2 separate regions of the Homo sapiens genome follow, and region 2 is linked to region 1. The links are contacts of gene promoters, found by promoter capture Hi-C in blood cells and fetal thymus (Javierre and others, 2016). All regions are on one chromosome and are shown on one strand. Each heading gives the region's core, a stretch centred on a gene start or on the middle of the fragment in contact. The rest is flanking DNA. Distances are from core to core; before and after follow the strand shown. Region 1 holds the start of LDHB (lactate dehydrogenase B). Region 2 overlaps CMAS (cytidine monophosphate N-acetylneuraminic acid synthetase).

The links. The method cuts DNA at HindIII sites, captures the fragments that hold promoters and counts their contacts. A CHiCAGO score of 5 or more calls a contact.
Region 2: a contact is called between a fragment that was not itself captured here and the fragment with the promoter of LDHB in region 1, in 4 of 17 cell types (naive CD4 T cells, fetal thymus, activated CD4 T cells and 1 more). The highest score is 5.9, in naive CD4 T cells.

What each region holds. Positions count from the first base shown.
Region 1 is chr12:21,656,083-21,659,336 of GRCh38, reverse strand. LDHB (lactate dehydrogenase B) reads left to right here and starts at 1,495. Exons shown (of 8, transcript NM_002300.8): 1 at 1,495-1,586. RefSeq lists enhancers at 1,014-1,193, 1,068-1,596, 1,574-1,823, 1,854-1,943. The HindIII fragment of the contact is 8,571 bases long and covers 1-3,254 here.
Region 2 is chr12:22,058,619-22,061,839 of GRCh38, reverse strand. CMAS (cytidine monophosphate N-acetylneuraminic acid synthetase) reads right to left here. Exons shown (of 8, transcript NM_018686.6): 4 at 3,140-3,221; 5 at 914-1,008; 6 at 388-559. Among named protein-coding and RNA genes, the nearest start is that of CMAS, 14 kb to the right of the region's middle. The HindIII fragment of the contact is 1,555 bases long and covers 537-2,091 here.

The sequences.
Region 1 (3,254 bases), core at 246-2,745:
TAATACTTTTGAGATTATCCTCCAAGCTCTTTTCCTCACCATCACATTTTAATTTGTAATTGGACTGTATCTTCAGTCAAAGTCCCCACTAGCTGAATGATTTATGCTAGGAGAGTTTGAGGCTTATGAATTCTTCTCAACAAACCCTTCTCTTAGTGATTCTTTACTCTGAATTTTTATTGTACTTTAACCAAATTTCTATTGCCACTTATTGTAATTGAAATAGGTTGCCTACTTGTCTGTCTCCAATGGACTAGGAACACCTCAAAGGGCATAATCTTATATTTATGTTTTTTACCAATGCTTGGCACTGAGAATAAACTGAAGCAATAATTATAGAATTAGTGGTCATATACAAGAAATATGCATTTACAAAAAAAAACACTTCACATACAGGAAGTTTGTGAGATGGCTATATTTGAAAGCATTTTAATTATAAGAAAACAGAACTGAAGCCAGACTCTTCAGAATTCCTCCAATTTATCATTCATTCATTTATTCATCAATGCTATATTTAGGTACCAAGCACTGGCTGAGTGTTGAAGACAGAATGAATGACAACATCCAGCTTTGGAGTCGATTAGGGACTAAAAAAGAAAGTGCATCTCACTTAGTGGTCCCACATTTCCCCTAGAGGGCAAAGCCTGACCTTGAGACCAGGTGGAATTGTAGGGGAACTTCAGATGGCAGGGACAAAGCCTCATTGGTCTTGTCAGGCAACGAGTAAGCAATCATTGCGTGTTTGTTGAAACAGGTTGAAAAAAATAGTCATTTTCATCAAATGAACTTTAAAACGGAGATGATCTAAATTCAGATGTATTTTTTTAAGTCCTTTAAAGTTTAACTGAAATGCAACATAGAAATTTATTTCTGGCCGGGCGCGGTGGCTCAGGCCTGTAATCCCAGCACTTTGGGAGGCCGAGGCGGGCGGATCACGAGGTCAGGAGATCGAGACCATCCTGGCTAACACGGTGAAACCCCCCTCTCTACTAAAAATACAAAAAATTAGCCGGGCGAGGTGGCGGGCGCCTGTAGTCCCAGCTACTCGGGAGGCTGAGGCAGGAGAATGTCGTGAGCCCGGGAGGCGGAGCTTGCAGTGAGCCGAGATCGCGCCACTGCACTCCAGCCTGGGCGACAGAGTGAGACTCCGTCTCAAAATAAAAAAAAGAAGGAAAGAAATTTATTTCTATTTGTACTAAATCTAATAGAACAAGAGCGTTAAAGTCCAGAAGAGTCGGGGATGGGCAAGTTTTATAAATAACTTGGCCTCCGCATTGAAGAGCCTGCGAGATGTGAGACCAGCTGAGAGCGGAAGCCTCTGGAAGGAGACCTCCTCATCTGGAGGGTGGGGGAGGGAGTGTGCATACTTGAGCCCTTGTCCTTGAAGGGGATTGAGCGAGCCGAGGGGAGGGGTAGGCGGTACTCGGATTTCCAATCACAATGGAGAAACCTAAGAGGCTGCGGTGGTTGTGGGGCCCCGCCCCCTCCTCCCTCCTTGCAGAGCCGGCGCCGGAGGAGACGCACGCAGCTGACTTTGTCTTCTCCGCACGACTGTTACAGAGGTCTCCAGAGCCTTCTCTCTCCTGGTAGGTTTCGGCTCAGGACCCTGAATCCTGGCCCACAGGCAAGCCTGATGGGACGTGCGGGGTAGTACTTGTATGGGGAGACGCGGGAAGGAGGAAGAAGCACATCTGTCCTCCGCGGCCTTTAGCTCTGAGCATCCGGCCGCGGGCCCTGACTTTGCCGCTCAGTTTGGGGCGCAGGGGGGGCCGTGCCCTGGCGGAGGAGCAGAAGGCAGAGGGTAGCAGCTGCGGCTCAGCGGAGAGACTTGTTGCATTTGCAGCTAAAACCAGGCCCTACTTGTCCTTGGTGGGTTCATGGCGGCCACATCACCCCCACGGCCTGCTGGCGGGAGTCGGGACACGTGCCCGAGTAGCTGGGGGAGGGGGACGGAACCAGGTGGCCTATGAAGGCTGGACGATCTTTACCTCGAATATTTGAATATATTGCCACGGTAATAGAGAAATGCCCTTGCACTCGCTGGGATGAGGAGAAAGGCACCTAGATGACCAGCACGTTTGGCGCTGCACTTATTTTTACCCGGCTCTGACGGTCTTTCCAGGAGCCATGCGCCAGTTCTTTCCTGCAGGGCCTCTTTTCTGGATGCTTAGGGGCTTCGTTTACTTTACCAGCCTTGGGTGCTCCGAGTAAGGAAGTCCTAGACTTGTCCCCACAGACCTTACTCGGGGAGATCTCTAGCTTCTGCATGCCCTCGTGATCTGCTGTTCTTTGCTGCCGGTGCCCTGAGGAAAAGATGGTTTGTGCGCACCGCGAGCAGTACAAGCTGCAGTAAGGGCCTGGGGAATGGGGGGAGGGGAGGAATTCAAAAGCAAAACCTGAATTTTTAAAAGATTACGGTGAGAAAGATTCTGCAAAGAAGATCTTTGTTCCTGAAATTAAGGCGCTCCTTTATTTCTAATGATTTATATCCACAGCAGTGAGGAGACATAAGGGACCAAGACTCAGAGATTTTTACCGTTTGTCGTTCTTGTTCCTTACAGCCTGCACTCTGATGTTGGCACAGGCCTGTATATCATGCAGACCATTTTCTTCTCATTTCTTAAAACTCTTTTTAAGGAAAAATTGAAGAAAAGCACTTTCTCCAGAAATATCTGAAAGAAAATCTGGTTCGAGCCTTTAAATTGTACTTCCTGAAGTTTTCTAAATTAAAAGGTCTATCAGAACAACGAATCTGTATTTATATAGCCACTGTTTCTTCATTTTCATTTTCCACTGCTTCCTGGGCCCCCTGTATACCAAAACGGTCGTAAACAGACCATCTAACAACAATAAACTTAAGTGCAGAACAACTATTCATGTGTGTCGTCCTTCAAAAAGAGATGCAGCATTCTTTCTTCTGAGCCTGTTTAAAATGCAGGCCATGTCTGAATTTATTTCATTTTAAGGTCATCTATTTGTGGAGGCACTTGCACAACATTGCATCTTCTCTCTTTAACGTCCACTAGGAAACTGTAAATGTGATCTGTAAAGGCGAAAGAATCTCCTTTTAATTTATCCTTACAGATGGGAGGAAATATTTTTTGGAAAAAAAACTATAAGATAAAATAGTTGTTACACAGTTGTCTCCAAATTCAGATGCTTTATTCCAACTTTGAGTCCTGCTAACTCTTACTTTACGTATACAGTTAATAGACTAGACTTATTGCTTAGTCCATTGCAGATTAGAATTAAAA
Region 2 (3,221 bases), core at 65-2,564, 400 kb before region 1:
AAGTTATTTTGAATCAAAAATGTCATTCATAAGAATAAGCTAGATTTTAAAAATCCACAGGATATCGTCCTTTTCTAAAATGGTACACCTATTATCTAGGGAATCTTTCTTGCTGCAAGATCCTTTGGGAAACATTAGATAGCTCCCATTTAAAAGTAGTTATGTTTATATTTACTGAATAAACAAGAAATATTATTTGCTGATTAACAAATTCCTAATTCTACTCATCTAAAACTAAATAGTATAATAATTTTCTAGGCGTATGAAGGCCAAATTTCAGATATTTTAAGAGTTAATACTAAAAATTTAAATCTCTTAATTCCTTGCATGTTCTTTGACCCTGAATCAAAATATTATAAAATACTGCTATATTCAGGGAGCACATACCTCAATACCACTTTTCTTTAATAAACTTATCCCAATAGCATCTTTTACATCATAAGATATTATTTCTTTTTGGTCTCCTGATACATAAATGTGGCCATTGGTGAGACATCCATCAATATTGCAAACCAAAAGTTTTATTTCCTTAAGCTTCTCTTTGCCAAAATAGCCATATCTAAAAGAAACCAAAATAGACCTTTGAGTACAAGTGCAGTACTAATCACTCCCTCTCATCTGGCTAAACCAATACATGAAATGTCACCCTCCATTCAATTATTCAAACATTACTCTCCAAATTTACTTCACATATATATTTTAACATATAGTACAGTAAGTAAAAGTAGTGTGGTCTAGCCAGATAATGTTTCTCACTTTATTGAAGCCATGTAAACACATATTTTACATGTCTTCCTCACATGAACAAAGTAATTACAAAGATCCTAAGATGTCTGAAGTATCAGAAATCAGTATCTAGAAATATAATTATTAAGATTTAGTACAAAGGTTATAAAGGTTTATTTGTTTTTACCTTAATACTCTTTGCTCTGCAATAGGCCAATCAATATCCACATCTATATCCACACTATGTTCAGCTCGCATTTCGTAGTATGCCATTTTTCCACCCTAAAGGTAGTATAAATGTCATGAATACTGTTTTTAATATTCATTCACATATATCAAAACTTTATTATAATACAGAACAATGAATTCATTTCTACAGTACTGAGAAAAATGAATAACCCAGTAAAAATCAGTCACATAAAAATGATTTTTAAATTTATTTTTACTTTTTTATTTTTTCGAGTCAGGGTTTCACTCTGCCTCCCAGGCTGGAGTGCAATGGTGCAATCATAGCTCATTATAACCTTGAAATCTTAGGCTCAAGCAATCCTCCCACCTCAGCCTCCTAAGGATCTGGTACTACAGGTATACAGCACCATGTCCGGCTAAATTTTTAAAAAGTTTTTTGTAGATATAAGATCTTGCTATGTTGCCAAGGCTGGTCTTGGAAACCTGGCCTCAAGCTATCCTCTTGAGGCCTCAAGCTGGCCTCTCAAAGTGCTGGGATGACATGCTTCAGCCACCACGCCCAGCTTTTTTTTTTTTTTTTTTTTTTTTTTTAAGGAGAAAGCTCACACAAAAGAAATAACCTTAACATTTTTCAAATTCTATCTAAACAGTTCAAGTTCCCTATTTAAGAAAATTTCTATTTTAATATTGAAAAAAGCAGAAATATTACATCCTCCAGGTTTCTGACCACAAGGGATTTTGTGGAAATCCCTTAATCATATCCTCCTTTTTTTCAAGAAGTCTCTCCTGTCATCATCCAAAAGCAGTATTAAGGTTTTTGGAACTTCTGTTCTAATTTGCAACTAACAGGCAACACAGGGGAGGAAAAATAACTGTAGCATCTGTTGTACAGAGTTTTCTTAGATCTCTGAGCTACTGATGAAAATGACTAATAGTCATCCAAGTCACATGCAGGCAAAGGCAAGGGCAGTCTCTTGATTCTAGGCAAGGGTCAGCAAGAGAAAGGGTCTTTCTTCTGATAGTAATTATTTGAATGACAAGATCAATTACTGGACAATTTCAATTTCATTTTTTTTTTCAGAATTGTCAGTCTCTTCATAAACCTTGTTTTAATGAGAAACATTTTTCTCCACACTTTAGGAATGGGTTAATCATGGTCCTCCTTAGAAAAAAGCTTAAAAATGGTAGTATCTATGTGTGTCAAATCCAATTTTTCTGAACACTTAAATTTAACTAAACAGCTAGTCTATAGTTTGCCTACACATTGACCAGAAGATTTGTAAAAATGTTTTTCTCTCTTTTGCTCAGAATAATAGTCCCATTAGAATTTTTATTACACAATGGAGAGGTTTCTCTCTCTCTCTTTAAAACCGCTATTTCTTGAGTAACATAAGAACCTGAATCCAAATCCTGACAGTACCATTTATTAGCTGTTTTTGCCTTGAGTCAATTACTTCATATTTCAGTGAGGCAGTTTTCCTCCTCTGTAAAACTGGGTAGAAATGTCCACTTCATTCATTCGCTATGCAGATTACATAAGATAACATATGCAAAGTGTTTCACCTACTCCGAAGTACACAGTAAATAATAAATAATAATGATAACTAAAATTAACAAGTTAAGAAATATATGATGCAACCATGTTGCAGGCTCTAAAATGAGAGAGACATTAAATCTGTTATTTGAAAATGAGAGTCAGGACAGATAAAATGATACATATTCAAGCTTACATAGTAAGAGGCAGTTGACTTAAAGTATAATAAAAAAAAAAAAAAATATATATATATATATATATAAAAAGATTCCGGGTTTCCTGACACCCAGGTTGTAACTCTTTTCACCTCTATGAAATTATTTGTCTTTTTAAAGCAATAGAAGTTATTCAACCCTACAGCCACAATATAACTATAACACAAACATGGATTACGTAGTTTTGAGTGGAATAATATGAGTACCAGGACATGTGTAGACACCCAGTACTTGATTCATTTTTTTATCGTTGTAGCAGAATTCCTTGCATATTTACTGAATGGATTCCAAAGATCACTTTGGGGTAAACCTGCAGGATAAATGCCTCAGATAGCAAATGTTGTTGGCTATTACCTTTCCTCTATAGGTTGATACTTTTCTTTATCATAAAGAAATTGTACCATACTTCTTCCCTAGAACTCAAAGTATGCCTACAAAAGCGCTTAAAAGGGTTATGCAAAATGAAGGTACAAACCTGCAAGTAACCCATCTCTATCAAATGTCTTTTAGCAAAATAAAATGAGCCATTTTCATATAATTCTCCATCCCAGTCTTGT